Linked DNA regions of Homo sapiens: all the other regions are linked to region 1. The links are contacts of gene promoters, found by promoter capture Hi-C in blood cells and fetal thymus (Javierre and others, 2016). All regions are on one chromosome and are shown on one strand. The core of a region is centred on a gene start or on the middle of the fragment in contact, and the rest is flanking DNA. Distances in the headings are between cores, read along the strand shown. Region 1 holds the start of ANGPT1 (angiopoietin 1). Region 2 holds the start of OXR1-AS1 (OXR1 antisense RNA 1). Region 3 has its middle 77 kb from the start of ABRA. Region 4 has its middle 120 kb from the start of ABRA. Region 5 has its middle 150 kb from the start of ABRA. Region 6 has its middle 160 kb from the start of ABRA. Region 7 has its middle 220 kb from the start of ABRA.

What was found. The method cuts DNA at HindIII sites, captures the fragments that hold promoters and counts their contacts. A CHiCAGO score of 5 or more calls a contact.
Region 2: a contact is called between the fragment with the promoter of OXR1-AS1 here and the fragment with the promoter of ANGPT1 in region 1, in 1 of 17 cell types (monocytes). The highest score is 5.6, in monocytes.
Region 3: a fragment that was not itself captured here is called in contact with the fragment with the promoter of ANGPT1 in region 1 in 1 of 17 cell types (endothelial precursors); the score reaches 6.9 in endothelial precursors.
Region 4: a fragment that was not itself captured here is called in contact with the fragment with the promoter of ANGPT1 in region 1 in 2 of 17 cell types (erythroblasts and endothelial precursors); the score reaches 5.4 in erythroblasts.
Region 5: a fragment that was not itself captured here is called in contact with the fragment with the promoter of ANGPT1 in region 1 in 1 of 17 cell types (fetal thymus); the score reaches 5.6 in fetal thymus.
Region 6: a contact is called between a fragment that was not itself captured here and the fragment with the promoter of ANGPT1 in region 1, in 1 of 17 cell types (erythroblasts). The highest score is 6.7, in erythroblasts.
Region 7: a contact is called between a fragment that was not itself captured here and the fragment with the promoter of ANGPT1 in region 1, in 1 of 17 cell types (erythroblasts). The highest score is 5.5, in erythroblasts.

Annotation. Positions count from the first base shown.
Region 1 is chr8:107,496,476-107,499,272 of GRCh38, forward strand. ANGPT1 (angiopoietin 1) reads right to left here and starts at 1,443. Exons shown (of 9, transcript NM_001146.5): 1 at 787-1,443. The coding sequence starts at 1,083. The HindIII fragment of the contact is 4,855 bases long and covers 1-2,797 here.
Region 2 is chr8:106,656,308-106,659,104 of GRCh38, forward strand. OXR1-AS1 (OXR1 antisense RNA 1) reads right to left here and starts at 1,413. Exons shown (of 3, transcript XR_007061059.1): 1 at 1-1,413. All of the region lies in intron 3 of OXR1 (oxidation resistance 1), which reads left to right. RefSeq lists an enhancer at 1,304-1,513 and silencers at 1,584-1,833, 1,874-2,023. The HindIII fragment of the contact is 2,439 bases long and covers 582-2,797 here.
Region 3 is chr8:106,845,679-106,848,475 of GRCh38, forward strand. No RefSeq gene overlaps it. Among named protein-coding and RNA genes, the nearest start is that of ABRA, 77 kb to the left of the region's middle. The HindIII fragment of the contact is 277 bases long and covers 1,324-1,600 here.
Region 4 is chr8:106,886,012-106,888,808 of GRCh38, forward strand. No RefSeq gene overlaps it. Among named protein-coding and RNA genes, the nearest start is that of ABRA, 120 kb to the left of the region's middle. The HindIII fragment of the contact is 1,021 bases long and covers 942-1,962 here.
Region 5 is chr8:106,914,399-106,917,195 of GRCh38, forward strand. No RefSeq gene overlaps it. Among named protein-coding and RNA genes, the nearest start is that of ABRA, 150 kb to the left of the region's middle. The HindIII fragment of the contact is 4,869 bases long and covers 1-2,797 here.
Region 6 is chr8:106,933,042-106,935,838 of GRCh38, forward strand. No RefSeq gene overlaps it. Among named protein-coding and RNA genes, the nearest start is that of ABRA, 160 kb to the left of the region's middle. The HindIII fragment of the contact is 2,187 bases long and covers 309-2,495 here.
Region 7 is chr8:106,984,504-106,987,300 of GRCh38, forward strand. No RefSeq gene overlaps it. Among named protein-coding and RNA genes, the nearest start is that of ABRA, 220 kb to the left of the region's middle. The HindIII fragment of the contact is 2,138 bases long and covers 323-2,460 here.

The sequences.
Region 1 (2,797 bases), core at 193-2,692:
GGTACTGTCTCTAACTACAATGCCCTGAGAAGGGAGGTATTTCAGGAATATAGTAGACTACATGCTGCGTTCAGCCCATATCTGCAGGTGCATGTCTTCCTCAACAGCCAGCATGCCCTCATCGTGAGCGAGCAACCCCTTTCCGACAGTTAACATTACAATGTATCTTTTTAATTTTTTTTCTCAAGGACAGAAGAAAAAAATATTTAACAGAAATCAGTCTACTATTCTACCACTTGCTGAAACTAACAGTTCCCTTTACATAAATATACAATTTCTCCAACCAAATATCATATTTTATATTTACTCTCACTTCATGTTAATTTTTATAAAGGTTAAAAAAACAAATACTTTGTGATGATTTGCCACCCCAGCGGCACAAAATTTTCTGGTGCAAAATCGATTTGATCTTATTAATTAATATTGTCATTATTATTTATTTTTCACCAACTTGCTTAAGAGGTACATACTTTCTTTCTTAAGGTAGTGTTTTGACAGAGAGAACCTTAATGCTGAACTTTAGAAAAGAGAAACCAAAAATGTCATAAAATTTGCCAGGGCTAGACACACAAACGGGGTGCCCCCACACATTCATAGGTTTGGGCAAGCCCCCAAACCTTGGCTTACCCAGGAAGCCAAACCCAGACAGCCGTCTTGCAATTGCAAACACTGCCCCCCTGGAGCAAAAGGTAAATACACAAATGCTCCCCTAAGGAACTTTAAGTTAGCTGCAGTGCAAGAAAGGAAAAAGGTCCGTGCTATTAGAAACTGAAAGCAATCACTTACTTTTTGCAGCCACTGAGTATAATTTTCCATCACATGTTCCAGATGTTGAAGTTTCTGGGAAGAGAAATCCGGTTCCACGTGTGGAGCATCTCTCTGCAGAGCGTTTGTGTTGTACTGGTCTGTCGTACTCTCACGACAGTTGCCATCGTGTTCTGGAAGAATGAAAGTGTAGGCACATTGCCCATGTTGAATCCGGTTATATCTTCTCCCACTGTTTTCTGGACTTCGGCGCTGATTGCTGCACCCTATGTGAGTCAGAATGGCAGCGAGGAAAGCAAAGGAAAGGAAAACTGTCATTGTACTGCCAGCACACTCCTTCCGTGCCTCTCGCAAAACTTGCTCCTTTCTTCTGACCTCTAAAACTAGTTCTTTATTTCAGGTAAAACTGCTTGTTTGTTTGACTCTTTCCCCCTCAAAGAAAGCGTTTGAAGAAGAATCATAGAAAACTAGCCATTTGTTAGCTTTGTTCTAAAATTTTAAAATTTTTTATTTCACTGCAATGATGTTTTTCTTCGTTAAAACTTGAGATATTTATTGCATAGTAGCTGAGATTTATTGTTTCCTCTCTGTGTGACCGTTCAGCATGGAGCCTGCCTGAGTCAGCTGCGTGTACATATTCTAGACCCTTTCCTCTACCCTATCTGCTGCAGATCTGCTATTTTCTCCCAGACCTCAGTGAGTTTTATTAAGGTTGCACATCCAAGCCAAGCTGGAAGCAGGCAGCCTTTCACAAGATGACTTGACAGGAATGCATGAGTGTGCCCCTATACTAAGGATTGCTGATGGCTTAGGGCGGCGGGATCGTCTTACAAATTGGCTAGATGCGCATGACCTCGATCATGTATGGCCCTCCCGCCCCTTTCCACAGACAATTGCCTTGAGCCTTTAGCAGATTCATGGCAAATCAATAAATAGAGCAGTCCACCTTAATACACTTTTGGTGTGCATGCTGACCTACTAAAATATAGCAAACTAGCAGTATGTTTTTAAAGTTACTATTTAGTCGAGGGACCCTAAGAAGAAAATTGGCATAATGTCCAATGGAATTATTTTTGATAGAGAATGATAAACCCATATCATTATTAAATGTCTTTAAAAAACATGTATTCTTGACTCTGAGGAAAAATATGTTAAAAAACAGTTTTTACAGATGGTATTCTTTCATTGTATTCACTTAGACTTTTAGGAGTTGAAGAAAATAATCAGAGAGGATCAAATTAGCAAGAAAATTAGCATCATTTGTTGCTCAAAGCAATATGTTGCACAAAGCAATATAGTATGTGCATATTAAAGAGGGTTATCTAAGTACCTTTTGGTATAGGGTTCTTAAATGAAACTGGTGTCCTGATCAGAATGCAACCCTTCATGTTCTGTGTATATAAATTGAGCAACTTCCCTACAAAAACAATGTGGCTACAATTTAAAGCAGTGGCTTGAGAATTATTAATTCCTGTGGTATATCCTAATCCTGTATTTTACAAGGATCTCTTTGGTGGCTATGGCTGTCTTTAACACTGGTGTGGAAGTTCCACATAAAAACCTCCTGTGGCTGCACAGACATACTATGTGAGAACAAGCATATATCAGGTGTGCTAACAGCCAGCAATGGGCTGTACAGGAGACATCTCTGTGCTTCTGTGAAGGAAGAAAGAAAAATTATCAGAAGATGATTTCCCACAGGCAGCGTATAAACATTTGAACAAAGGGACCCATAAACATAAACAGGCAATAATTGTAGAATTTAGGGAACGGCTTTGAGATCTTTACTAGATGCAGAAAACCTGAATTATGAGTTGGGATTTTCATTAGGAACTGGGAGGGCTTTTAGACAACTGCAGTCATGGTGTGAAAACAGAAGCCACAGCTGTCATCTCCCATGTCTTGGAAGGAGAACAGGGCAGTGGGTGAAGGTCCGTAGTGGTTAGAGATGGGCATTTAGGGAGAAGTTAGAGGAGAGGTCAAAACAAATTCCAGAACAAATGCGATTTACTTGGGGAAAGAAACCTTGCCG
Region 2 (2,797 bases), core at 163-2,662, 840 kb before region 1:
GTTGGTTTCTGGTGAGGACCTTCTTCTGGTTTGCAAACTGATGTATTTTTGTATCCTCCTGTGGCAGAAAGATGGAGACAGCTCTCTGGGTCCCTTTTTTATAAGGGCACTAATCGCATTCATGCGGCCTCTATGCTATGAATTACCTCCCAAAGGCCCCATCTCCTAATACCATCACATTGGGGTTAGGATTTTAACAAATGAATTTAAGGGAAAGCACAAACATTCCGTCCACTGCAACATCTACAAAATAGGTCCTTAGGAAGTGCAGAAGTCTGGAACAGTTCTTTCCCAAGCCACAACCCTGAAAACATGGATTGCTGGGTATGCAGATTCTCCTGGGTCCCTTTCCCATAAACACCGAATTAGACACTCTGAGGATGCAGCCCAGACATTCTGTATTTTTCACCAGGCATAATGGTGATGGCTGATATTAGAATGGTGAAATTTATCCCACCTAGTAAGAATCTAAACTGAAAATGGTGATGATGCAAAAAAGATCTGTCAACCAGTTAAAAAAAAAAAAAAAAAAAGAGGGTGTGTGTTTGTCAGGAGGGATAGTCTTTAGTAGTATGGCCAAAAGCTTAAGCCTGATTTTCAGGGCTCTATTGTTGGAGTGGGTAGTTCATCAACTTCCTAAGTAATTCAAATCTTTTTCCCCCCAATATATTAATATATTGGTGATTCCAAGAAAGAGGGTTTAATTTATTTAATGCCTGGGAAAACTAAAAGAACTACAAACAGATGTGAAAGGAAGAGAATAACCACATCTCACAGGAAGCAAAATTTCTGTCAAAAGTTACTGTTCTTTCCCTGTCTAGGTTCTTTGTCCCTGAAAGGTAGATCCGCAAACTAAATCCCTCAATAACGTTGCCTAAACAGGACTGGGATCATAGAATGTCCAACACTAACATGAGTTCATAATGGCACAACGAACTTAAAATGTTACTATTCATGTTTTAATTATGATTGCAGTCTTACGTTGAAGGTATCTCCGCCGTCCTTAAACATAAAAAAAAAAAAAGGAAATACAAGCTGCAAAAGTTTTATGTAATGCACTCCACCCTCTTTTTTCCCCAAGCCAACACACACCCTTCAAACTTTTTGACAGTTATTTTCAGACCCCTCCTAGGCTCCCGAACTCCATGCAACTCCAGCAGTCTCCCCTGGGCCATTTTTAGCCTCTGCTCTGACCTGGCGGGAGGCTGGGTGTCCACCCTTTCCCCTGCAGTCCTGAAAGTCCGGTCCGAGCGCGGACGGGGCGGGGAGGGGCTGGGCGGGCCAGGCCAGCTCCATTGGCGCCAGGCGGGTGGGGGAATGCGCTGAGAGGACCCGTCCAGCTTGCTTAAAAGCCATCAGTTTTCTGACCCCGCATCGGTTCCAGGAAGAATACACCTATGTGACAAGCTAAGTTCTGCCTCATTTTGCATTTAGAAGCCACAAGAAAAACTTTTCGAAAACTTTTGTCCGTCTTTTGCTCCCCCGACGCGTGGTTTCCTGATGGTCCGTCCCCGGGCAGAGAGAGGGACGCCCCCTCCTCCTCCCCGCCTCTTGTGAGGCGCGCGGAGCCGCCTCCCCTGGGTCAGGTCTGATGGGCCGGTGGGCGCGCTAGTGGTGGCCGCCACCGCCGAAACCGTCGACCTCCTGGGCCCCAGTTCCGCGTCCAGCCCCGCGGCAGCATGGACTACCTGACGACGTTCACCGAGAAGAGTGGGCGCCTTCTGCGGGGCACGGCCAACCGCCTGTTGGGGTTCGGGGGCGGCGGCGAAGCCCGGCAGGTGCGCTTCGAAGATTACCTGAGGGAGCCAGCCCAGGGGGACCTCGGGTGCGGGTCCCCGCCCCACCGGCCCCCGGCGCCGTCCAGCCCGGAGGGACCTGGTGAGCCCACCTTTCTTTCGCCTCCCGCGCGGCCGACCTGGGCTGAGGGCTGTGGGGAGGCGGCGGTCGTGGCGCCGGGCGGGGGTCGCTGCCCGGCTCTGGCAGGTGTGCCTGGGCCGGGGCGGGCAACGTGGCCGGGGTGGCGGCCGCCGGGGGCGAGGAAGGAAGGACTCGTTCGGCTCTGGGGAGGGAAGACTTTCAGCTGCGTGCCAGCTCTTCCTGCTCTGCTCTTCCTGCTTTCCTCACCTAGACTTGATTTTCTTTCCCCGCCAAGTATTTCAAGGGGACGATCCATTCTCTCTTTCCCTCCCACTGGGAGGTGAAGACTGAACCAGTTATGACGTCCGTGTTTTCAGTCTTGGATTCTTGAAGAGCGCTGTGCCTGCTTTGGTTTTGGTTTGGGTCAGTCTTTCCTTAATATTTCTCAGTTGTTAGGATTCACTTCCTAACCGAAAAATAAAAAGCCAGATACTTCTTTGTAAAATAAAACACTTCATTAACATTGGAAGCTAGTTGACATTTTGCGTCGTGTACTTTTTGAACGGCTGCACGTTGTCTTGTGGTGGCAGAACCTAGAAACTTTCTCAGTTCCTGTTTATTTTGTGTTGTGTTGGCCGATTTTTTTCACCACAGTGGCTTTGTACCATTCTTTAAAACAGTCATTTGTAGCGACATGATATTGATAACTTAAAGAATTTTTGAAAGTGCTGCTGAACAGTTTTAGCATAATGCATAGGGTAACTTCCAGTGTCCTTGGCTTCGTTTAACAGGTAGCAGACATCCTAGCCATGTCTGATTTTTATTTTTGTTAATTGCTTTAATATTTGAGGGTTATGAAAATAAATGAGCATTAGAGAGTTTAGAAAATAGAGATAGGCACAAAGTGTGTAAAATCTGTTTATAACTCCACATCGTGCCA
Region 3 (2,797 bases), core at 212-2,711, 650 kb before region 1:
GAAAATCTTAATTTCACGTGTAAAACTAAGGGTACATTCTACCAGATGTAAAGAGCTATCTGTGGAAATAAAATGAGTTAGATAATAGTTAGTGGGGATGTGGTACCCTGACTTAACAGCCTCAACACCCCCTACCCTCCACTGCCATAGGATTTGAGGACTGGAGAGAGAATGGACTCGTCTACTGCCTGTTTGAGATCTTGAACAGTAGCAGCCATACCTTTTCTCCCCATACCACTGAGCTCAGTATGGGGGGAGAGAGCTGAAAATGCAAATGTAACGTATTTGAGAATCAGAAGGTCAGGGACTGCCCTGTCCTCATCTCCCATCTGACTTTCTCACTGTTCTGGAGAACTGGCGGAGTCTCAAAGAATATGCAAGAGGAAGTGTTCCTAGGCCTGCCACCAGGTGGCCATGAATAGAAGTGGGAGAGAGTGTGATATATAGTTTATCTCAGGTATCATCAGAAAACTTCGTTAGAATTCTAGTAGATCCCAAAACCCAGGGAAGAGGGAAGAAGTGGAGTCAGTTAAACTAAGGATACTATTCGGGAGAAACATGCCTCATTTGTGCCCCGGGGAGAAATGGGACAAAAATTCAGTAGCTGATACTAGTACCTCCCTGGTACTGGACTACAGAGTCAATCCAGGAACTGGATAAAGGAGAAATCCCAAAAATTTGGGAGAGAATTTTGAGCCTGGGCCTGAACTGAGTATTTGAGCTGAACTGAGAACTGATCAAGAATTGGCTAATTTTCCACCATCAGCAGAAAAGGCTATGAAGTTAGTCAACTTCCAGTATAGAGAAAAAGGCTACATTTTTGCACAGCCAAGCATGCACTTAAAACGCTTGCAGGTTCCAACAGATTTAGAATAATTTCAACCTTTATGAAATTTAAAATTCTAAGTAAGTTTGTAAACATGAGACCTGATCTCCATTTCTATATTGTTGGATTTTGTAAAATATAAAAACTTTCTAGAAAATCACTAAATCTATATAAATGATTTATATGAAATCTAGTAGAATATTGAATTCTTAAATGATCAAATATCCTGTTCAGTTATTTTTTAGTAAATTTCTGAATGTGGATAAATTTGTGTTTTGGTAAAGTTTACATTATGTTGTCTAAGTTAGGAGCTGGAAAACCTTGGTTTGTGGGCAAAATTGGTTCCGGTATCTGTTTTTGCAAATAACAAAGTTTTGCAAATAAAGTTTTATTGGAACACAGCCACTCCCATTTGTTTTACATTGTCTATGGCTCCTGTTGCAACAGAGGCCATATGTCTCACAAATCCTAAAATAATTATCTGACCCTTTACAAAAAGCTTGCCAACTCATAGACTAAGGCTTAGTCAATGCAAAACATATGTGTGGTCTTATCTTTTGAAATACTGAGTAGAGCCTATGTTATTTCTCTTAGAACAATATAAGGTCTTCACTAGGGCATGGTATTTTCCAAACATGATTCTTGAAACATTGCAAAAAAAAAAAAAAGGAATCTTTAAAGATCTTTCCCCACAAAATGGAGGTGATATTCAAGTAGAATATTAATCCTAGGACTCAAGATGACATTTGTAGGTGTATAAATGCAATGTTCTTAAGCTTGTCATAAAGATTTAAGTACCTGTAAGAGGTGCTGGAATAGAATATGACATTTTGTGAGAAAAGAGTTCCATGAAGAACCCTCCTGTGTCACTTTCACTTTTCATTCCATACTCCACCGCTCTTACTTTGCAGCATGGCTCTCACACTGACCTTCAGAACTAGTTTTCACAGAGTATTAAAGTTACATGAGGTGAAATTATGATGTACTGTTTGGTAAAACATCATCAATGCCTTCCTCTTAAATGACTCCACATTACCTTATGAAGATCAAGTCCATGTTGCAAATCCTAAACCTTAAGGCCTGATTTTATATTGATTTCCTTTTATTATCTAGTCTTATAATGTAATTATGAAAAGCATCTCCTATTCTAGTTGGATCAATTTCTTCTTGTCTCCTTTATATACAATTCTGATTTCCCTTTTCAAACTTTAGGGTATAACATACCTAAGTCAAACTACTCTTTTAAGAAATTGGGCTGAGCGTCAGAAGTTGGTCTCCAGGCGTAAGATCTGAAAGTCATCGTATCTGAGACTGAACAAGATTGGAATAATTATCAATGTTTCTAAAATAGAAATCCATATTCATTTTAGAAAAAAGCATGTTTGAAATAATCGAAATGGGAAAAACAGAACTTATCCATAACGCCTCCCCACTTCCACAGAGTTACTGATTTTTACAGTTTTTGCATATAGATCCTTTCAGAAATGTCTCTATGGACACAAATTTAGAAAACCACAAAAATTGGATGATGCCATTTGTGTTATGTAATATTATAATAAATATCTTTCTATATTGGTAAATAACAACTAGCAAATTTGGTTGCATGTTATATACCTGCCACAAAATTTGTTTAGAGTATTACTTCATTTGACCTTTAGTTGTTTCCAGGTTTTCATTATTATTCATGTTGCTGTGAAAAAACATATGTGCCTAAGTACTTGATCAAATACTTCTTTAGGCTAAATTTTGAGGGGCAGAATTACAAGATCAAAAGTTCCGAATAATGTTGAGACTTTCAGTACACCTATTGCCAAATTACCCTCTAAAATGGTTGTACTGTTTCATGTTCTCTCTTGAAGCTTATGAGAATGCCTTTTTCCCCCACACTATCATCATTACCAGAAGTTTGTCTAATCCAATGGCTTTCCAAATTATCTTGAATATAACCCAACAGTAAGAAAAGACAAGTTT
Region 4 (2,797 bases), core at 202-2,701, 610 kb before region 1:
GGCTTTTTATAAATGGCAAATAAGGAAAGTTAAAGGTACAATTACATAAAGAGACAATAACAGGTTTTCTCAGAGAGTCATAAAAACATGACATATTTAATGCTTGGGAAGATCTGAGTCTTTGCATTATAATTAGCTAAGCTCTTCTATATTAATAATATGTACTGTATCTCGATCAATATTGGAGGACATAGAAAAGTAATGTGATTTACAATTGAAATTTTTTTATAATCTAAATGTGCTAGTTTTTCATTAGCACAATTTTAACAATTACAACAAACACTTAGAAAATGCAGTAAAAATGACAGGAACCCCCAGCAATTATTTCACATGAACTTTTGTGGTAAAACCTATACATATAGCTATGTCAGTGGATCATCGCTGTCTTGTAACATTTTATGAAAATTTGAAAGAAGTAACTGACACACTTCAGCATACTGACCTTTCCTATCAGTAGCCTGGAAGTCCAGTCTAGTCATTTGATCTGGGCTTCAAAATATAACAGATGGCATCTTAATCAAACATTTTTTTCTATTTAAACTAGCAAGAATTGAAATTTTCTCAATTAATGCAAGAAAACCTTGATGTTTCTCATTTAAACTTCAGTTATTTTCACATTTTAGCATTTGCTGCATGTGATACCCCACTTCAACAAGGACCAATTTCTTTATCATTCAGGATTCTCAGTGACAAATGATAGAGGATGACCCTGGTCAACATACTTTTAAAAGAGGGGGTGAGGTTATGGGAGAATCCCTGTGGTAACCCATAGAATCAAAAGAAGAGTGGGACAATTTAGCTTTGGGGAAGCGGAGAATTAGCTGGAATTTGTGAATTTTCTCTCTAGCGTTCTGATATGTTGATGACTTGGCTCCAAAAATTTTTCATTAATTACCTAAGCCCAGCTCTACTTGCCAAAAACACCCTTTAGATTTCTCAGAAGCTTCTTCAAAACTCAATGATTCTACGTAGTCTGAAAACCCTATTCATTTTACAGTTGAGAAAACGGATCCAGAGAGGTTAAATAACTTGATTAAAGTAAATATAATAAACCTTCTTTGACACAGGTAAATAAACCTTCTTGAATGGTTCTAAGAGTAAATTAACTTTGAAAGCATTCCTAAGAGTAAATGTGATTAAAGTGACATTTTAATAGGGTACGTGTCAGCTCCTTTGTTGTATCATTGACTGTGGCACCATGGTCTTTGCGTCCTTTAAAAAATATTTTTCTCAGTCTTTCTCCTGTTTAATACCAAGATTATGTGTCAATTGTTACTTAGACTTAACCAGTAACACTGCAAATACATTTGAGAAAGACTGTTTAGATATGACAACATAGAAATGTGATTACCCAAAGGTATCCCAATACTTTTCCTCTAGTGGCTTGCTAAAACTGGATTGCTCTGAAAAAATTTGCTCTTTGGAACTTCATTCATTTATCCAGTACAGACTTATTGCACATGTGCTGTGTGTAAGGTACATAGCTATTGGGGTTGCATCAGTGAACGAAACATAAAAATAAATATAAAATATTTGCAGCTTTATGGAAATTTCATTTTAGTTTGAGAAAGCAGACAATAAATGATAAATATACAATCTAGGTAAACTATATAGTGTATTAGCTGACACTAAGCACCGTAGGGAAGAGGGTAGAAGAAGGGTTAAGAATTGGAAAGCCTGGTTGAAATTTTAAATAGAGTGGTAGGGGAAGTCCTCACTGAGAAGATGACATTTGAACAAAGACTGAAAGGAGGTAAGGAACTCTTTCATGTGAGTATCCAGAAGAACATTAGACTTGACTTTGGGTTTTCTTTGGATTTTTAAAATCAATTTTATTGAAGGATAATTTACATACAGCAAAATGCACCCATGGTAACTGTAGAGGTTGATGATTTTTGACAAATATATATTCCATGTTACTGCCATCAGCAACAAAATATAAAACATTTTCAACACCTCCAAAGCTTTCTTTATGCCCTCTCCTAATCAGTCCCTATGCTTCACCACTAGCCCCAGGTATTTACTGATTTGCTTTCTATACCTATACTTTGATTTATCTTTCTAGAATTTTAGATAAATAAAATTATATGTATTTCTTTGCATCTGTCTTCTTTTGCTTAGCATACCTTTTGGTTCATCTTTTTGTTGTGTACCTCAGCAATTCACTGCTTTTCACTGCTGTGTAATTTTCCATTGCATAAAAATATCTAGTTTGTATTTCCATTCATTTGTTAATGTACATTCAGTTTGTTCCCAGTTTTCTGCTTTTTCACTATTACATACAAAACTGCTATAAACATTTAAGACAAGATTTTGTATAGACATGTATTTTTATTTATCTTGTAGATCTTTGGGAAAACATATATTTTTAGATCATACGTAAATTTACTTTCCACTTTTAAGAAACCGTCAAACCACTCCCAAAGTGTTGGCAACATTTTACACTTCCATGATCAGGGTATATGAGTGTTCCAATAGCTCCATGTCTTGCTAACATTAGGCAATGTCAACTTTTTAAAATTTTAGTAATTCTAGTAGGTTTGTAGTGGTATCTCATTGTGGTTTTAATTGTATTTTCTTTATTTTATATATATATATATACACACACACACACACACACACACACACACCATATATCCAGGCTATACACATAGGGTATATATGTATAGTCTCTCTCGCTATATACATATATATATATATATATATATATATATATATATATATATCTCCTCTCTCTGTGTATATAGGTTATTGTTTCCTAGTCTGCAACTTGACATGTAATATAATGTAGATGACT
Region 5 (2,797 bases), core at 111-2,610, 580 kb before region 1:
TTACTTTAAAAAACACTTGAAAAACTATCCTATTAGATGAATTTATATTTTATTATAACAATGCATGTAGACACACGTACATACACACAACTAGAAAGGATATATGTGAGAGACATATGTATTTATTTAGTCACAAAAAGAGCAAAATAAATGTGCCAAATCATTTGAAGATCATTTGCAAGAAATCTGCACCCTCTAATCCACCATTATCTTTCAAAATTTCATGGTTACTTTCTTGGCGTACATGGACAAATGTTTCCACTCCTTCCATAGGACACTAATTCTAACTTTGGCCTCCCATTAACTGCAAAACATCTCATGCAACATTATTCTGCAGGTTTAGCTGACTTTATTGGTTAACATCAAGAAAATCACTTAAATGTTAATAATTTGAAATGGAATTGAACTCTCTTGAACTAAATTTTTTATTAAAGCACACATGGTTTTCACATTGAAGGAACAAAATATTCCATAAAATATGTTTTAAATTTAATGAACTCAAGACTGTTAGCAATCATTTGAATCACAATGAAATCAACATGTGTGGCAAAGATTTGTCTACTCTGGTAAGCAGCAATGCATTTGTGCACCAATTTTTACTTTAAATTTTATAGAACTATAACAAAAGAGAATTTCAGCTCAGTTCTTGAAATCATGGACAAAACTTTGCAGAAAAATAAATGAGTCATATCATTCAATACCATACATACAGCTGAGTTGACTTTTATCCAAACTCATTATATATTATCATTTTAGTATTGTCCCCTGCATTTTCTTTGCCTTCTCCTCTAAGAAATATTTTCCTTATGGTAGAAATCCAATTATTTTTTCCCCTGTAATTGAAATTTTCTGTTTTCATGAGGCCAAAGCCGAGCAAATAAGATAGAAATGGAGAGTAGTGAGCAAGAAATATTTGCAGAACAGAATTATATGGGAGCTCCTTCCTTGTATGTAGGGGGCACAGGTATGAATGCATGTGCTAGAACAGGTTTTCCTCACTGAAACAAGTCTTATCACAGAATCACTATGTGAATTAATATTTTGGAAAATGAAATAATTCCTTCCCACTGATTTATAACTATAGAGATATTTAATTCTTTTCTGATCAACCTTTAACATTGTGACCACATTTTCCAACTTTGAAATTATCAATCTTGAATGTGTCCATAAGAATTGGGAAGTACAGTATAGAACCTTAAGATCCATCAGTGCTTTTGTAAAGTGAAATAAACTAATTTAATGGTAGTGATAACTCTCAGTTGCTCTCTTTTTTAAGTTGATCTTTTAATGTTTTGTCATATGCTATTTTTCTTGGCAGTGAATGTATAATGAAAAACCTGTCCATAATATGAATGATTACCCTATAATTTATCTCCTTTGGGGGTGTAGACGAATTGCAAGTTAAATATCAGGAAATGCAGGATGGATGAACACTTCTCTGGGATTGAGAATCAGCTGAGTCTAAGGAATTTTGCCAGAATAGTATAGCTCATGATGTTGGTGGGACACATGGCTCCATAAAAGTCCCACCCATCTTGTGTAAAGGAGGACTTTCACCTTTTCATGCCCTGGTTCCCATGGTGACTGGTATATTATTAGTTTTTGGCATAATAGTGGCATTGTGGCATATCATGTTAAATTATAGCTAGGGACTCAGCTGCAAATGTTTTTGCTTCCTGATTTATGGGAGATAGCATGATTGAGAGAAAAGAATTTGTAAGCAGTAATTAGAGGAGCAGAGGTAAAGAAGTGCACTGAGATATATATTTTTTTTCAGAGAAATGCAGTTAATGGAGCATGTCAATGAAAAGGATTTTCCATTTTTAGGCTGGCTGGTACGTCCCCTGTTTAATAAAATAAGACTGAAGTGTGCCTTTTACTTTCTATACAGTCTGACAAAGGTAATTTAGAATGGAGCTTTTCGATGTCTGTAGGCTGCTGCTGCCAGGATTTATATCTTCATGAACGAAACACAATTGCAGATGCCTTCTCAAGCTGATTGATAGGCAATAAAAAACTGAAACAAGAGCTCAATCTCCAAGAAACAAGAAAAAGTTGTGTGTGTTAAATGGGGCAGAGAGATATCTGCTATCCTCTTGTGATATTTGTGTCTATTTTAATGCCTATGTAGATTTGTGCTGTGGCACATGAAACCAGGTATATATTACCAATGTAACATGCTTCATTTGATTTGCAACATTTTCAGTGAACTGCATATCTCATAGTGCTCAGAGCCAACCTAAAATTTCTGACTGATTAGAATTGTCTGCATTTGTAAATCACTGAGGCTGGACCTGGAAAGAAAAGGGATTTGGCTCCTCTGGGGCCCCTGGTATACATTGTGCTTAATAGAAGAATTTTGATTCAGATCCTTGTTTGATGCTGAAATTATTCTTTTTTCTCCCCATATAAAATCTCCTGAAAATTGAAGGCAAATTCTATAAGGGGCACAATATAGATCATTGTTTATTATGCAACACATTCCTTCTTCCCTCCCTTCTTCCATTCTTAAAAATAGTTTTTGCATCTTTGCTTATCTTTACTTACCCTACAAGGATATTGCTATCTGCTGTGAAGATAGACAAAACTGAATAATTTTGATGCAATGCATCTGGACAATAATAGATAATGTTTGTTATAGAGGATTAGGTCTGTGTAAGACATCTGGAGAGATAGAGTCAGTAACTCTGTTAGGACTGGGGATGAGTCAAGGAAGACTTCACCTAAGAGCACAAGCAGAAAGAAAATTTCAGGCATGGAGAATAGATGGTAACTCAAATACATGAAAGAGTAATGT
Region 6 (2,797 bases), core at 152-2,651, 560 kb before region 1:
CTTAACTCATTATAAAAAAGAAATCTCTCTGTAGGTTACCAAGTTATCAGTAAATGACACTAGAAGACTTTGGATTTAATATAAAAACTTTAAAACATTTCTATTGCAAAAATCCATAGATATAGTTAAATGAGACAGTTGACAAACATTATTTTGTATATATTTGTAACATAGAATTTTTTTTGTATTTTTATTTTGTATTTTTTGTTTATATTTTGTATATACAATTTTTATATATTTCTATGTGTTTGTAAGTATATACAAGGGATTAATATCAACATATAAATTTCCTCAGAGTTAAGAAAAAAAGCTTCAATAGGAAGAAAGGACAAATTATATAAATAGAAAGTACATGAAATAAAAAATATAGATAAATGGAATAGGAAATAATTTGGAAAACATGCTTAATACCACTAAGAATCAAATAAATTTAAGTTAAACAATAAGATACATTTTTCATCTATGAGACTAGCAAGGATAAAGAGTATCTTATTTGATATTTACAAGAAACAGATACTCAATTTACATTGCTAGGTAAAGAGTAAACTTTTAAAAATTGCAAGCCATGAATATTTTACTTCTAGGAATTTTTCATATGGAAATAATTAGACAAGTGCCCAAAGTTATAGGTATATGTTTTGTGTTTGCCACTGAAGAGTGGTATCAACCCCTCACCCAAAATAGTTTTGAATGTGCAGACTGATAAAGCCACACACACACAAAGATGGTATGGAAAGGCTTTTAATTTACATAACAGGACTTTCTGGGAGAGCATGGCAGAAACCCAAGCCAATCTGCAAAGGCTCCAGTGATGCGAGAGGTGAGAGGTGATGGTTCTGATTGTGGTTAGGGATTGGAGCTGGGGTGAGTGTTCCTGTGCAGGGCCAGCCACTTGTGTGGTTTGAATTTCCTGCTGGCACCAAAAGACTTTCTTATGGGCCTGCCCAGATGTGGGGCAAAAGGGGCAAGAGAAGGGGTGGGCCTTAAACGCTGTCAGTGAACAAACACCAAAACTGGAGTCAGACTCTTTATTACAATTCATTCCTGATACCTGATCAATGATGGAAATGTGCCATGTCTCATTTAATGAAATTTGAACTTAAATAGGCTATTCTGGCATCCTGTGAGGCCTGCACCCTGAGCCTGGTAAGGAATGTAAAAGTTCCATTCAAGGCTTTGGCGAATGGCCCAGTGTTTTGTATTTTGAGAAATAAAATGAATGCCTTGGTCACCATCAAAAATGACTAGAACTGAAGGGTATAAGGAATGTCTTGGTGAGGCCTTGTGTCATGCCTCAGGGCACAGAGAGATAGGTGTGACTTTGGTGTGTATTTTAGGTATCTGTGGGACAAAGAATTCCCAGAGTTCTTTCTAACGGGATAACCTCAGAGAAGGAACTGTTGCTGTTAGCATTAATTGGATCAGTTAGCCAGACCATTGTCAATAGCCCGAGAGTCTGTAAAAATGTGCAGAAAGAGCTTCCTATTGTCCAAGTCATCTTCTAGTGCTAAGGCGATTGCCTGAAGTTTGGTCAGTTGTTGTAACCCTTGGATCTCGTCTTTGATCAGGGATATCCCAGTTGGGGGATAGACAGCAAAAGCTCTCCAGGGAGCTTCAACACATGTGATATCTCTAAAGGTTATGAACACCCTTTCTGATCACTCAGTTGACTCCTGTGGGCCTCCTAAGTGGTCACTGGGTCCAAAGAGGGATGACCTTCCTCTGGTGTCATCGTACATGACAACGGAATGAGGACAGGGGAAGCTGCTTCCTCTCATAGGTGGAATATGCCAGAGGGTCCAGGTTTGGGTCTATCTGGAAGCACAATTTCCATTTTCATTAGGAGGTCATTGGCCATGCCAAGACTTCAGGGTTCTGTCCCTACAACCTGAGACATAACAATCAGCTAAGTTTGGAGAGTCATAGGCTCAGGGCTTGTGGAAGCCTTCATCTCCAGAAGGGCCTTGTATGAGGCCAGAAATTGCTGCTCCACTGCAATGTGGCATTGGGCTGGGAAGGGCAGTTTCTTGCGTCAGAAACACATGGGCAACTATGGCCACTATGGTTGGTCCAGTGGCTCTAGGAGGCCTGAGAGGAGGTTGGTAAAGCCTCTACAGGAAGGGGTCTCTGGCATACTAATGGGAGTTCCTGTTGCATAGCAATCTGGATGGATTCTAGAGACTACTGCCCCCACCTGCCCCCTCTTTTTTTGTAGAGGACCCAGTTCAAAATGGGGCAATTTGTCAGTGATGACGAATGGCCCAACTTTAATTTACTGATGATGCTGGGATTGAGACATGATTCAACCTGAGACAGATGGATAGGTCCTGGCCAAGGCATACAACCCAGATTCACTATAAAGCAGGCCTCAATTTCATACTCCTGTCCCTAAATGCTAATTATTGGAACATATGACTTAGGTAGGTTAAGTCTATAACAGACGCTCAGAGTAGGACTCTACAAGTGGATCAGAACATGGGAATGCTCAAAATACAAGCTTGACAGCAGACAGCCACACAGCTCAAAGCTTGCATGAGTCAGCAGACAACAGGTCAAAGGGCATGTTTGTAACAACAAATGATCCAGCTGGCAAGCCAAAGGCAAAAGAAGAAAGACCCAGGAAGTAGGAGTCATCATGTAGAACTTCCTGCTTGTAGCGCCAATTATACCTCTCAAAATTGGTTCAGATGCTGAGACTGATGATGCCACACATGCAGTAATGGGATAGGAAAAGTTTTTATACTCAAGCAATAGGATCATTTAAAATGGTTTGCAAAACAGAAGGAAAAATTGGCTT
Region 7 (2,797 bases), core at 142-2,641, 510 kb before region 1:
AAAAATAAATGTATAAAGCAGAGTGCAAGAGACAAAACATTAATCTTTGAAGAAGTTAGCTTTTGAGAACTGAAATCTAAATATAATACCAACTTTTGTTATCTGTATAAGGTGAGATTCTATTTTGGTTCCTTTTTCTTGTCTACTTCCTAAGGCTAACTATTCTGATCCATTTTTTAAAAGCACTTTAAAAAATGTTTTTATTTTAATTTCTTTTTAGACATAAATGATTTAATTTTATTTCCCATAAGCCTATTTCATTAAATTTGATCCTGGAAATTTGATTTTTAAAAATATATGATGTATATGAATACAAATGCTAAGCTTGTTGTAGTTGATTTCATTTACCTTCACAAACTCGTGAAAGTGTTTCAATAGATTAATTATGCAATTATATGTCCCCATTTGAATGATACTATGTCTGAAATCAAAACAATCTGCATTCTAGACATTTAAAAATAAATGCAAAGTTATTACTATCAAAAGTAGCTGGCAGAATTGCTTATTTCCAATAGAGTTACAAGAGAAGCCTGGTTTACTTAACAGGATTCTTAGGTTATGTTCCCTAAAAGCAGAGCCTGAGACAAGGATTTAGATGCAGATTTGTTGAGGGAGTGTTCTTCAGGAAAAAAACTCTGTAAGAGAGGAAGTGAAGCAGGAGAGGGAAGGTGAATTAGAGGGGAAAGGGCAATGCCCTGTGGGTTGAGGCAGCTCCCATCAGCTGAGGACAGTTCCTGGAGAAGGGAGGGAATCATACTCATAGGAGCTGGGAGAGGGTGCACTGCCTCACAATGCAGACAGGGGTTATGGATTACATGCTATTGCAATAGACAAAAAAGACCTTCAATTGGCATAGCAGACAACAGCCATGATAGTTGCTTCCTTCTGGCTCAGTCTAACATGAACTAAATTGTCAGCAATGGCTGCAGAGTGGGTAGGTCTGGATGCTTATTTTTCTACCATGGGATTATCAAAACCATATATGGCTTGATAGGGTAGGCCTCAGAAAAAGATCAATTGGTACCTATGTTGAGCAATGAGTTATGATAAGACTAGGTTTCAAAGATGAGCTAGGACAATCAGATTTCTTAATTTGGATATTTGAAGTAGGCTATATTGGAAGCAGAAGCTGAGAAGCCATGATGACCTAATGTACAGGCTGGAGTTCTGAGGGAGGCAGATACTATGAGTTAGCAGCAACCTCGAGGTGGAAAAATGGCAAGCAGACAGCACAGAGCGAAAAGGCCAATTGTTGGAGAAACGGAGAATGGGAAACAAAGCAGAAACCTGAAGGGGAGTTGAATTACATTAGTAGAGCATTGGACCAAAGAACTACAAAGTCCTGATGGTGAAATACTTTTGTTTTTTCAAGTAGGAGGGAAGATGTCAAAGAGCATGCTCAAGAAACACTAGACTGGATTGATGTGTGATTGTTCTCTGGGGAGGGTAGATACGGTTATTTGCATGACGTAGTTTTTTCAATCACTAAAATGCATCTGGTATGCCTTAAAGTGGAATTGTTTTGTGTTGATGATAACCAGGGAATCCTGGAGGCCAGGATGCTTCTTCCAAAAGGAGAATGGTAAAGAAGGGAACTTTGAAAAAGACAGATTCAAAAGCAGAATTTTAAAGTTATAAGTAGTAGATTGTGTGATGTAAACCTATTTAATAGTGATTTTATTTTTTTATTTGCAGAAGTGTAATTTGACCATGGGGCGGAGGGAACGGTTGACATTTGGATTACACAATATTGTTTGGTAAATGCCCTGAGAGAGGTATAGAGGTGTGCAAGAATTCCAAGTGAAATCACAGGAAAGGTGCTTGCCAATCTAATTTCTACAGAAGCAAAAACCAGAGAGAGACTCACAGGATGGCCAGGGGTTGGTTTGGTGAAGAGGAGGAGAGCTCAGGTCATTGATTGGGACAATGGTGAAAAATGTTGGACTTGATTGTGTCAAGGGTCTTGCTAGCTTTGAGTCCGTGACTTTTTAATGGTGCTCTTCTTGAATGTAAGATCTTAGGAATATTAATCTCCTTTAGCAGGGGGAGAGAGAATCTTAGGAATATTAATCTCCTTTAGCAGGGGGAAAGAGAGTCTTTCCTGCCCTGGCTCAGGGTGTAGTGAGGAGAGTCATTTCTACTAGGCTATAGTGTGTCTAAACCAGTGCGTAGGGAGGGCGAGAACCCAGTTATCACAATCCATCCTGTGTCACTTGTGAGAATATCCTGTAAGTGCTATTAAACATAAAAGTTTTTAAGTTAAGAGGAGCGGTAAGCTCTCTAGAAATTGTTGTATCTTCATTAGCATTTAAATGATCAAATATTTGACCCAAGAAGCATCATGTGTACATGCCTGTGTACAAGTGTTTATTTGTGAAAACATACCCACAAACCCATTTTTATGAGGTCAAGAGAATCTTAGACACACTTGATTGTTTTTGCATTTGCTCTTTGCATTTAAGCTTTGATCAATTGATTTCCTGAATATGGCATTAAAACAGGTTTCAAGATAATGAAGACTACAAAACATATCATAAAATGAAATAATAAAACAACAAAAAAATGGGTAGATTGAGAACAATCTCATAGCATAAAGAGCCCTCATCGTATTTGGTGGTAGTATTTTTTTGTGGGCATCTAATTCTATGATTAGAGAACATTTAATATAAATTCAGCAGAAACATCTGCTGATCTCATCAGTGATTACCTAGCTATGAAATTCTTGGATTCCTCTTGAAAGCACCGTGTAAGTCTACTACAGATATTTCTTCCATCCTAGATTCTGAAGAATATCTAG